2 separate regions of the Homo sapiens genome follow, and region 2 is linked to region 1. Evidence: promoter capture Hi-C in 16 types of primary human blood cells and fetal thymus (Javierre and others, 2016). All regions are on one chromosome and are shown on one strand. Each heading gives the region's core, a stretch centred on a gene start or on the middle of the fragment in contact. The rest is flanking DNA. Distances are from core to core; before and after follow the strand shown.

Region 1 (6,532 bases), core at 2,782-5,281:
AAAGCTTAGCTCCACTCTTGGCAACTGCAAACCACTGGACAGTTTGTATGCACCACAATGAAATCTGCTAAGACTGAGATGCAGGGGATGAAATCCAGCCCACATCAGCTCCCCAAGCCAGACGTGAGGCTGCAACCACCAGGAGGAAGGGAAGCATACCCAGAAGAAGCATGTTTTTTGTAATGCATCTGACCAGAAGGAGCTCAGTATAGGATAACTCAACTTCCCCTAATTACACCATCCTCTAACTCCACAGCACTGAGGTACATGTTACAAACTTACTATTATAACATTTTATGCATACTAATATAACGTGTCAAACTGTATCAACCCCTACATGCCCAGGTTCCCTAGGGACTTGGGCACGTATTTTTTTTCCATATATACTCACACCCGCCTAGACAAGTGCCTGTCAAATTGTTTTAAAAGGTTTCGGAATCAAATTGTTCAGTAGTTCACCAGTGAGGCTACTGAGCACCACCTGTGTACCATGGCTATGTAGTAAGTTTTATGTACAATGCTACCACCTGAGGAGCCACATAGTGAGGGCCTGCACCTTGTTTACCTAGAGAATGATAATCCTGCTATTCAAATAATTATATCCTAGTATTGCTAACCTTGACAACTGATTTCACACTGCATTTATTTCTCAACCAAATCTTAAGAAAATATTTCTAAAATTAAAGAAGTAAAACAGAACAATGCTTAGCGGGGGAAAAAGCTGCTCCTTCAACAATGAAACAAATGGGATTTAAATAAATGCAATGCAGTAAAGCCTACTGGTTTGGTGCACTGGTATCAGACTACCTGGCTTAGAACTCCTTTTTCACTTCTTAGCTGTTTAACCTTACACAAATTATTTAACCTTGCTGTGCCTTAAAGTTGTCTCACCTGTATAATGGGAACAATTTCACAGGGTTATTTGTGGTGAGTATACGGAAAGCCAGCATGAATAAAAGTTTGATAAATGTTCACAATTACAAGAAACAAAAAAGAATAATCCAATGCTGCCAACCAGAGCAAAGCCACCTGGGAAAGGTCTAGTCTTACAGCAAACAACATCTAAACACTGACTGAGCACCTATTCAAGGACAAGCACTGTGCTACCAGACTCTGGGGAGTGCAAAGACGAGTGTATCACTGGTTGCTGACCTTGAATGTTCATGGTCTAGTAGGAGAGTTTTTTTAAAAAAGTTAAAGAAGCCAATCATCGCAGACAGTTGATAAATGTTGTCATAAAGGTATCTACAAAATGCTACAGATGCACAGTAGCCCTAACTCGGTCAGGGGAGGTGATGAAGAGAAGTTTGCACTAAATCTTGAAGGAAGAGTACCTTTCCTTAGAGTGGGCAGATGGGTATGCTCACTGCACACAGTGGAAACATCAAGTACCAGGATGAGAAGCACAAGAAGCATGTACAATTCACAAAACTGCAAGCTGTTCCTTCATATATGCCTATCATGTACCACTTGGTGTATACACATTATCTCATTTGGGCCTTACAACACTCTGGGTGGCTAATAACTTCGGTTTTTTGAAAGAAGAAACTGAGACTTAGAGGGATGAAGAAACCTGGCTAGCCAATACCTGAAGAGTGAGATTTAAACCAGGTCAGCCTGACCACAAATAACTTACTCTGCAGCAGACTAGAACATGTTGACACGCTGTATTTGACAATTTTTCTAAAAGTAACTGTGAGCCAAGGAAGGGTTCTAATCGGCAGTAAAATGATTAGATCTTCATCTTGGAAAGAATCATTCTAGCAGAAGTACAGAGGACAAATTAAAAGGTTTAAGGCCTAGGGGACAAAGCCCATCAGCCACCTGTTTCACTAATTAAAGTTTTACTGAAAAACAACACCCATTCATTTAAGTATTTCTATGGCAGCTTTTGTATTACAAGGGAACAATTGAGTAGTTCCACCCTTAGGACTACAAAGCTGAAAACATTCACTATCATTTACAGAGAAAGTTTGCTGATCCCTGTTGAAAGCAATATTTACTATAGTAATCCAGGCAAGAGATGATGGGGACTGAAGACAATGCAGTAGGGATGAAGAAGCATTTGAAAAATGTAAGCAGAACAGATCAGCAGTGTGACCGACTGGATATAAGAGTAGGTAAGAGAGAAGTAGCTAAGACTGCTCCTAGGTTTCTAGCTCTACGGTCTGCTGAGATGGTGGAGCTAGGATGTGGTGCTGAAAATGATCCCAACTCATGTCCATGTATTAACTTCTGGAAGGGATGAATGTTACCTTACATGGCAAAAGTGACTTTTCAGATGTGATTAAATTAAAGATCTTGGGATGGGGTGATTATCCTGGATTATCTGTGTAGGCCCTAAACGCAATCGTAAGCGCCCTTATAACAGAGGAACAGAGATAGACTGACACAGGAGAAGGCAGAGACTGGAGTTATGCAGCCACAGGCCAAGGAATGCCAGCAGCCACCAGAAGCTACAAGAGGCAGGAAACAGATTCTCCCCTAGAACCTCTGGAGGGAGCAAGTCCCTGCTGACACCTTGATTTTGGCCCAGTGAAACTGATTTCAGACGTATGGCCTCCAGAACTGTGACAAGGTAAATCTCTGTTGTTGCTGGGCTTTTTTGTTTGTTTGTTTAAGACAGAGTCTCACTCATGTCACCCAGTCTGGAGTGCAATGGTGCGATCTGGGCTCACTGCAACCTCTGCCTCCCGGGTTCAAGCGATTCTCTTGCCTCAGCCTCCCGAGTAGCTGGGATTACAGGCACCCACCACTAGGCCCAGCTAATTTTTTTGTATTTTTAGTAGAGGCGGGGTTTCACCATGTTGGTCAGGCTGGTCTCGAACTCCTGACCTCAAGATCTCTGTTGTTTTAAGCCGCCAAGTTTGTGGTAATTTGTTACAATGGCAACCTTAGTTACAAGAATGTTCCATCTGTTAAATCCCTGATTGTACTGCACTAGAAGGGGGCTGAGAAGCTGAAAGATGTGGGTGAAGACCAACAAACATGGGATTTAGGGAAAGGGAAAAGAGGAATTGACAGACCTGTGGAGTCTGGAGGTTGGGGGAAGAAGTCAGGAGGTCAAAGTGATCATTACAGGTATACTCATCTGGGAACACCAGCTACAATGTGGGGATGATAGGTGACAGAAACAGACCAGCGGTCCAGCTTTTCTAGGCCAATTCTTGGATGGGGACATGAAGCCTGTGGAGAAAATGAGGTGGCCACAGGAAGGAGCATAGATGATGTTGAGGGATGCAGTCTGGCTTCATGGTTAAAAGCAAAGGCTTTGGGATTAGAAAGACATGGATCTAGCTTCCAATTCCACACCACCTACTAAGCGTGAAAGATTCGGACAAGTTTCATTCCTCTTAGAACCTCAATTATCTCATCTGTTAAATAGGATTATTAATATCCATACCTCAGATCAAGTCAAACAATTACTGTAAGCACATGGTGAGTGCTTAAAAATGTAGGTGTCATTATTACCACTATTGTCATCAGTATTATTAATATGAATATGACTGTAGCTATTACAGCATTAGTCTCCCTACCCTTAGGTACGGCCGCATTTCTATTATTTTTTTAGGAACAGTGTGGCAAGCAGAAGAGTGGCCAGAACGGTGCAGAGGTTTGAGCTGTGGCACCCGGCGTGACCTCTCATTCCCGGCCGGGTCCCGGTGACAGATCCGCCGCCTCCACTCTGCAACTCCTCGCCGCAGTGAGACGCTGCCCCGCTGCTGGCCGGCCCGAGCCCCCTCCCCAGCGCCGGCCTCACCTTTTCATAGTTCTGCATGAGGCGGCTGATACTCTCGCGCTCGACCTGCCATTCGGGTTTCTTCAGTTGCTTCCTCAACTGCTTCTTTTTGTTCTGCCTATGGCTGTGTTTTTTCTTCCAGCGATTGAAGCTCCGCACCGGGTCGGGTCGGGCTCCCGAACCCGGAGAGTTGGCCGTTTTGCCCATTGCGGCGGCGGCGGCGACAGCTCGGATCAACCCCAGACACGAGACACCTAAGGCCAGACTCACGGAACCAGCATGGGACAAACGCACAGAGGCGCATGCGCGAACTCAGAAGCCCGCCCCCGAGCTTTTGAAACCGGGGCACGCGCCAATGACGTCAGGAAAAGGAGGGCTGTGATTGGCGAATTGGCTCCTGCTGGGAGGGGCAGCCTGGGGAAACGGGGGCGCAGCACTCCACGGAAGGGGGCGAGCTGAGCCGAGCCGGGAGCACGCCGGCTCTTTAAAAAAAAACGCATGCGCACTGTTGTTGTTACTATGGTGACGTCATACACTGACCCTTTAAGGGCTATTAACACATTTGCTCCAGGTTCAACTTTGCTAAGCGTTCGTGAGTATGTGTGTAAACACATACAATCTGTGAATGAAAATTGTGACCCTCGTTTTGCACTTTTCGGGCCAACGAGCCAAAAGATTTGCCCAGAAGTAAACAGCTAGTTAGTGACTTCTGATTTCCATCCATGGTGGTTGTACTTCCTCAGGAATAAAAATGAATATTCTATATTCTTCTTATGCCCCTCTGGGTTTTCCTTTTCCTCTGGGCCCCTCAGACTCTAGCTGCAACAGCAAGGAAACTGGAACGGAATCAAATTGAATTTGCCTTAAAATGCTTTTATGGAGACAAAATGATAACTAAACGTAAGGAGGTAGGTAATAGAGGCCGGGCACGGTGGCTCACGCCTGTAATTCCAGCAATTTGGGAGGTCGAGGTGGGTGGATCACCTGAGGTCAGGAGGTCGAGACCAGCCTGGCCAATATGGTGATGCCCTGTCTCTGCTAAAAATACAAAAATTAGCCAGGCGTGGTGGTGCACACCTATAATCCTAGCTACTTGGGAGGCTGAGGCAGGAGAATCGCTTGAACCCCGGGGGCGGAGGTTATAGTGAGCCAAGATCGCCCCACTTCACCACAGCCTGGGTGAAAGAGTGAAACTCCGTCAAAAAAAAAAAAAAAAGGAGGTAATAGAAAAGTTATTGCAAGTTGGACATTTAAGTGAACTGGCTTTCAATGAATTGAATTTTTTGACACATTTACCTACAGCCTCCAGGAAAACACCGGATGTGGGTGGGAGAGCTTAGCTGTAGCAAAGGAGATTGGAAAATTGAGTTCAAAGTTCACAGGCAGAATTTTGGGCTCTCAAATTTCCTTTCCAACCCCACATATCCAGATCACTACTCTCAACTCTATGCCCATCCTCCAAACAAGACATGGCTTATTGGAAGGGAGTGAGGACAGGAGGTGAACAAGAGAATTTCCACACTCAGGAACACTAGATGTGGTAGACAGTAAAGCTCAATAAGGAGTGATTACATGAAAGTGTATATACATCCTCAAAAAATTAAAAATAGAACTCCACGTGAGCCAGCAATTTCACTTCTGGGTATGCATAGCCAAAATAATCGAAAGCAGGGTCTCAGATATTTGCATACCGTGTTCACCACAGCACTATAGCTAAAATGTGGAAGCAACCCAGGTGTCTATCAACTGATGAATGAGTAAACAAAACATAATATGTACCTAAAATGGAATATTATTCAGCCTTCATAAAGAAGGAATTTCTGACACATGCCACAACGTGGATAAACTTTAAGAATATTAAGCTAAGTGAAATAAGCCAGTCACAAAAGGACAAATACTATATATGGTTCTATTTATATGAGAAACTTAGAGTTGTCAAAATAATAGAGAAAGTAGACTTGTGGTTGCCAGGGACTCAGGCAACCAGGGGGTTACTGTTTAATCAGTGCAGAGTTCCAGTTTGGTAAGATGAAAAGAGTTCTGCAGATTGGTTGCACAACAATGAGAATGTAATTAATGCAACTGAATTGTATACTTACAAATGGCTAAAATGGTAAATTTTATGTGATGTGTATTTTACTACATATGTATACCACATATGCATACCTACAGAACGATAAGGCCCTCAGCTATAACTCACTTTTTTCCTAAAACTGTAGGAGTCAGGCATATATGCGCCCCAGGCAAGAAACTGGAAGGTTCAACTCTAGGAAAACTGAATGTCCAAGAGAAAGACCTCAATAACATCTAGGGGCCAGGCACGGTGGCTCATAGCTATAATCCCAGCACTTTCTGAGGCCAAGGTGGGAGGATTGCTTGAACCCGGAAGTTCGAGACCAGCCTGGGCAACATAGTGAGACCTTGCCTGTACCAAAATTCAAAAAAATTAGCCGAGCTTGGTTGCACACACCTGTAGTCCCAGAAACTAGGGGGCCAAGGCAGGAAGTTCACTTGAGCCTACAGAAGTCAAGGCTGCAGTAAGCCCTGATACTGCCACTGCACTCCAGGCTGGGTGACAGAGCCAGACTCTGTCTCAAAAAAAAAAAAACAAAAACAAAAACAAAAAGAGAGAGAAAGAAAAAAGACATTTTGGCAGCAGCCAAATAAATGACAACTCACTAACCACCCCATTGCTCTTTAGTGAAACTTATCAGTTAATAAGCCCTCCATTCACTCATTTCTACTCAGCCTTATTCTTAAATATGGGCGAATAACCAAAGACCAACAAATATT
Region 2 (6,532 bases), core at 1,044-3,543, 250 kb after region 1:
TATTTTAAAATTTCTACTTTATTTCAGTTATTTAATTTGGAAATTAGCCAGTTATCTTTTTGTTGTCAGCCCTTATCTTGATTGTGCTGTACTTTCAATCCTCTGTTGTCTATTTTTTATAAATTTTTATCTGTACTTGAAAAGAATATATATTTTTTAGTTATTGAGCATAGTATTGCATAGATGTCAATTAGGTCAAATTTTTCAGTTATGTTGATCAAATCTTCTATAGCCTTACTGAATATTTTTGTCTAGTTATACTATCAGTTACTGAGAGATATGTATTAAAAGCTTCCACTATGACTGAAGATTTGTCTATTTTTCTGGTGGTTTGTATATATTTGAGACCATGTTATTAAGTGAATACTTCAGATTATTGTATCTTTCTTGAATTGAACCTTTTATCATTATAAAGTGTGTCCCTTAAGGTCTCAAATTTCTGGTATTAATACAACCACACCAACTGTCTCTTTTTTTTTTTTTAACAAATCAGAAAGTTTTACTGTCAGTAATATTGTGTTTCCTTTTTTTATTATCATACTTTAAGTTTTGAGATACTTGTGCAGAATGTGCAGGTTTGTTACATAGGTATACACTTGCCATGGTGGTTTGCTGCACTCATCAACCCATCATCTACATTAGGTATTTCTCCTAATGCTGTCCCTCCCCTAGCCCGCCACCTGCTGACAGGCCCCAGAGTGTGATGTTCCCCTCCCTGTGTCCATGTGTTCATTCTCATTGTTCAACTCCCATTATGAGTGAGAACATGCGCACACCAACTGTCTCTTATTTGCATGGTACATCTTTCCTGTCATTTTACTTCCAACATTCTGAATCTTTACATTTTTGCTGTGTCTTTTTATAGGCAGCAGGTTTTTTTTTGTTTGTTTGTTTTTGTTTTTTTGAGACAGAGTCTCGTTCTGTTGCCCAGGCTAGAGTGAAGTGGCACTATCTATCTCAGCTCACTGCAACCTCCACCTCCCGGGTTCAAGCATTCTTGTGCTCCAGCCTCCCCAGTAGTTGGAATTACAGGCATGTGCCACCACGCCCGGCTAATTTTTTGTATTTTTAGTAGAGATGGTATTTTGCCATGTTGCCCAGGCTGGTTTCAAACTCCTGAACTCAGGCAATCCTCCTGCCTCGGCCTCCCAAAGTGCTGGGATTACAGGTGTGAGCCGCCGCACCTGACCTGGCAGCAGGTTGTTAGCTAACATTTTTTATCCAGTAGGATACTCTTTGTCTTTTGTCAGAACATTTACTTCATTCACATGTAATGTAATTACTGATGTTTGGGGATTTAAATCTACCCTGTTACTATTTACTCTCTGTATGTCTCAGACGTTCTACGTTCTTTTTCAACATGTTATGGCCTTCTATGGGAATGAGTTTTTTATATTTTTCTCTATATATTATCATTCTTTTAAACTTATTCAAGAGATTGCAACATGCATATTTGACTTATGAAATCATATATAGATTTGCATTTTTATCTTCTCCCAGACAATGCACTTATTTCTCATTATCCCCTTTGACTTATATTCTTGCTGTTGTTCTTTTAAATTCTCTATTGATGGATCTTATGGTAAGAGTACATTTAGTTCAATAAGAAACTGCCAAACTTTTTCCAAAGTGGCTGTGCCATTTTGCATTCCGACCAGCAAAGAATTACCACTCCACATCCTTGCTAGCATCTAGTGTTGTCAGTATTTGAATTTGGTCATTCTAAAAGGTGTATAGAGGTATCTCATTGTTTTTGTTTTGTTGTTGTTGTTGTTTTGACACGGAGTTTCTGTCGCCCAGGCTGGAGTGCAGTGTCACAATCTCAGCTCATTGCAACCTCTGCCTCCCAGGTTCAAGTGATTCTCCTGCCTCAGTGTCCCGAGTAGCTGGAATTCACACCCCATCACGCCCGTCTAATTTTTGTATTTTTAGTAGAGACGGGGTTTCACCATGTTAGCCATGGCTGGTCTCAAACTCCTGACCTCAAGTGATCCACCTGCCTCAGCCTCCCAAAGTGTTGTGATTGCAGGCTTGAGCCACCATGCCCGGGCCCTCATTGTTGTTTTAATTTGTAATTCCTTAATGACATACAACGTTGACCATCTTTTCATATGCTTATGTATCGTCTGTATATCTTCTTTAGTGAAGATAGCTTTACAGGTCCTTTGCCCATTTTTAATTCAGGTTGTTTGTTTTCTTATAGTGAAGGTTAAAGAGTTCTTTGTATATTTTAAATACCAGCCCTTTATCAGATATGTGTTTTGCAAGTATTTTCTTCCCAGTTTATGACCTGTCTTTTCATTATCTTAATGTCTTTCATTGAGTACAACTTTTTAATGAAGTCCGTCATATCTATTATGCTTTTGGTGTTATATCTAAAAAGTCATCACCAAACCCAAGCTCACCTAGATTTCCTCCTATGTTATCTTCTAAGAGTTATATAGTTTTGCATTTTACATTTAAGTTATGATCCAGTTTTAGTTACTGTTTTGTGAAAGGTGTAAGATCTTTGTCTAGATTTTTTTTTTCTTGAACGTGGATTCCCGCAATGTCCAAATGGTGTTCCAGCACCATTTGTTGAAGACTATTCTTTTGTCACTAAATTGCCTTTGCCCCTTTGTCAGAGAATAGTTAACTGTTTGTGTGGGTCTATTTCTGGGCTCTGTCTTCTGTTGCATTGATTTATTTGTGTATTCTTTCACCAGTACCACAGTGTCTTGATTATTGTAGTTTCGTGGTAAGTCTTGAAGTTGGGTGGTGTCAATTCTCCAACTTTGTTGTTCACCTGAAATATTATAGTGGCTATTCTGGGTCTTTTGCCTTTCCACTTAAAATTTATAATCAGTTTGTCCTTATACACAAAATAAGTTCCTGGGATTTTGATTGAGATTGCATTGAATCTATAGATCCAGAAAGATGGGAAGAACAGACATCTTGACAATATTGAGTCTTCCTATTCGGGTGTATGGAATATCTCTCCATTCATTTAAATCTTCTTTGATTTCCTTCATCACGGTCTTGTAGTTTCCCTCATATCGATTTTTATATATTTTGTTAGATTTATACCTAAGTATTTTACTTTTTTGCGTGCTGATATAAATGACAATGTGTTTTAAAATTTCAAATTCTGGTTGCTTATTGCTGGTATATAATAAAGCAGTTGATTAGTATATTAACCTTGTGATTCATTGGGATTTTTTAACATAGACAATCATGTCATCTGAGAACAAAGACAGTTCTTTTTCTCCCTTCTCAATCTGTATACTTTTCATTTCCTTTTCTTGTCTTATTGCATTAGCTAGGACTTCCAGTGTGATGTTGAATAGAAAAGGTGAGGGGACATCTTTGTAGGAAAACATTTAGTTTCTCACCATTAAGTATGATATTAGGTGTATGTTTCTTGTAGATATTATTAATTAGAGGAAGTTCCCCTCTAGTCCTAGTTTGCCAAAGTTGTTATCATGAATGGGTGTTGGATTTTGTCAAATGCTTTTTCTACATCTGCTAATATGATCATATGACTTTTCTTCTTTAGCCTGTTGATACAATATAATAGTGGCCTTGCAAAATAAATCCCACTTGATCATGGTGTATAATTATTTTTATACATTGTTGGATTTGACTTACTAAATTTTTGAGGATTTTTAAGTCTATGCTCATGAGAGATATTGGTCTATAATTTTCCTTTCATGTAATGTCTCTGTGTGGTTTTTGTATTAGGGTTATGCTGGCCTCATCAAATGTGTTAGGAAGTATTCCCTTTGATTTTATTTTCTGGAAGAGACTGTAAATAGTAAAATAAATTTCTTTTTTAAATGTCTGGTAGAATTTACCAGTGAATCCATCTGGGCCTTGTGCTTTTTTTCTGTTTTGAAAAGTTTTAATTATTGATTCTATTTCTTTAATAGAGATAGGCCTATTAAAATTATCTACTACTTCTGTGATTTTTGGTAGATTATGTCTTTAGGGAATTGGTCTCTTTCATCTAGGTTATAAAATTTGAGGGCATAGAGTTATTTGTGCTCATAAAATTTGTTTATTATCCTTTTTAGTGTCCATGCAATCAGTAATGATGACCTCTATTTTGTTTCTTTTTTTTTCCTTCACCATTTTCATTCTTTACAAATTTTATTCCAAAAAAAGGGGATGTGTGTGGAAGATTAAGATGTCCATGAAGAGTAACCATCATCATGACAATAAAGTATTCAATTAGACAGAAATGACAAGGACCATTTCTGATATTAGTAATGTGTAATATCTGTCTTTTTTTCTTAGTTACCCTAGCCAGAAGCTTATCAATTTTATTGATCTTTTCAAACCAGCTTTTTGTTTCTTTTATTTTCTTTATAGATTTCTTGTTATCAATTTCATTGATTTCTGCTCTAATCTTTATTATTTATTTTCGTCTGCTTGCTTTGAATTTAATTTGCTTTGCTTTTCTAGTCCCTCAAGGCAGAACATTAGATTATTTCTTTCAGATATTTTTTGTTTTCTAATACACACATTCAGTACTATAAATTTTCCTGTAAGCTCTGTTTTTGCTGAATCCCTCAAATTTTAGTAAGTTGTATTTTCGTTTTCATTTATTTCAAAGTATTTTTAACTTCTCTTGAGACTCTTTATTTGACCTACTTGTTATTTAGAAGTGTGTTATTTAATTTTCAAGTTTTGGGGTTTTCCAGTTATCTCTCTGTTACTGATTTCTAGTTTAATACTATTGAGGTGTGAGAGTATACTTTGTATGATTTCTATTCCTTTTAAATTTGTTAAGATAGGCCCATATATGACAAATCCACAGCTAATATTGTATGGAATGGGGAAAAGTTGAAAGCGCTTCCTCTAAGAATTGGAAAAAGACAAGGATGCTTATTATTACCACTCAAGTTCAGGACAGTACTGAAGTCCTAGCCAGCACAATCAGGCAAGAGAAAGAAATAAAAGGCATTCAAATGGGAAAATAAGAAGTCAGATTATCTTTTTTCTACTGGTGACATGATCTTATATATATATATCAAATGTTCTCACATAGAAGTGGATGCTAAAAATGTATACACATGAACGTAGAGAGTGGAGTGATAGACAGTGGAGAGTTGGAAGGATGAGCTGGTTGGAGGGAAGTGGACGATGGGAAATTAGTTAATGGATACAATGTACATTAATTGGGTGATGGATACTCTAAAAGCCCTGACTTGACCACTCTGCATTCTATGCATGTAACAAAATTGCACATATACTGCACAAATTTGTACAAATAAAAAAGTGTATTAAGGTGTGTTTTATGGCCCAGAACGTGGTCTGTCTTGCCAAATATTTTGTCTGTGCTGGAGAAGAATATATATTCTGTTGTTCGAAGAAGTGTTTTATAAATGTCAATTGGATCCAGTTAATTTATGCTGCTGTTCAGTTCAATTATGGCCTTACTGGTTTTCTGACTTGCTGAATCTGTCAATTACTGATAGAGGGGTATTGAAATCTCCAATTATGTTAGTAAATTACTATATTTTTTCTTGCAGTTTTATCAGTTTTTGCTTCACATATTTTGCTGCTTTGTTGTTAAGTACATACATTATCATCATGTAATGCTCCATTTAGTCCTGACAGTTTTCCTTGATCTTAATTTGGCCTTGTCTGAAATTAATATAGCAGCTCAGCTTTCGTTCTATTAGTGTTAGTATCATATATCTTTCTTCTTCTTCTTTCTTCTTTCTTCCTCTTCGATAAAGCCTCACTCTGTTGTCCAGATTGGAGTGCAGTGGTGTCATAATGGGTCACTGCCGCCCTTGACCTGCCAGGCTCAAGTGATCCTCCCGCCCCAGCCTCTGAAGTAGCTGGGACTACTGGTGCATGCCACCACACCCAGCTAATTTTAAAATTTTTTGCGTGGAGTCAGAGTCTAACTATATTGCCCAGGTTCGTCTTTGTTCTTTTCTTTGTTATTAATCTGTGTCTTTATATTTAAAGTGGGTTGCTTGTGGATAACATATAGTTGGGTCTTGATTTTTTATCCGCTCTGACAGTCTCTGATCTGCCCTTTGTAATTGGTATATGTAGATCATTGACATTTAAAGTTATTGATATAGTTCAATCGATATTTATTGTATTTGTAATTGTTTCCTGTTTGTTGCCATTGTTTTTTTTTTCTCTGTATTCCTTCACTTTACTGCCTTCTCTGGTTTTAATTGAGCATTTTATACGATTTCATGTGTATGTTTTACATGTAAATAGACTAAAGAACCCAAATGAAAGCAAAGGTTGTCAGACTGACAAAAACCCCATCTGTTTATTATTTTTGAGGCATACTTTAAACAATAAGAATATAAAACAATAAGACAATGGAAAAATATACATCATGCAAACTTTAATTAAAAGAAAGTCAGACCAGGCATGGTGCTCACACCTGTAATCCCAACACTTTGGGAGGCCGAGGTGGGTGGATAACTTGAGGTCAGGCATTCGAGACCAGCTTGGCCAACGTGGTGAAACCCCGTCTCTACTAAAAATACAAAATTTAGTCAGGCAAAAGTAAATCCCA

The links. Contacts are between HindIII fragments. The CHiCAGO score rates a contact against its expected background, and 5 or more counts as called.
Region 2: a contact is called between a fragment that was not itself captured here and the fragment with the promoter of DDX10 in region 1, in 1 of 17 cell types (naive CD4 T cells). The highest score is 6.0, in naive CD4 T cells.

The regions. Positions count from the first base shown.
Region 1 is chr11:108,662,568-108,669,099 of GRCh38, reverse strand. DDX10 (DEAD-box helicase 10) reads right to left here and starts at 4,031. Exons shown (of 18, transcript NM_004398.4): 1 at 3,761-4,031. The coding sequence starts at 3,946. The HindIII fragment of the contact is 12,853 bases long and covers 7-6,532 here.
Region 2 is chr11:108,411,919-108,418,450 of GRCh38, reverse strand. The region is part of intron 3 of C11orf65 (chromosome 11 open reading frame 65); the gene reads left to right. Among named protein-coding and RNA genes, the nearest start is that of C11orf65, 52 kb to the left of the region's middle. The HindIII fragment of the contact is 4,000 bases long and covers 294-4,293 here.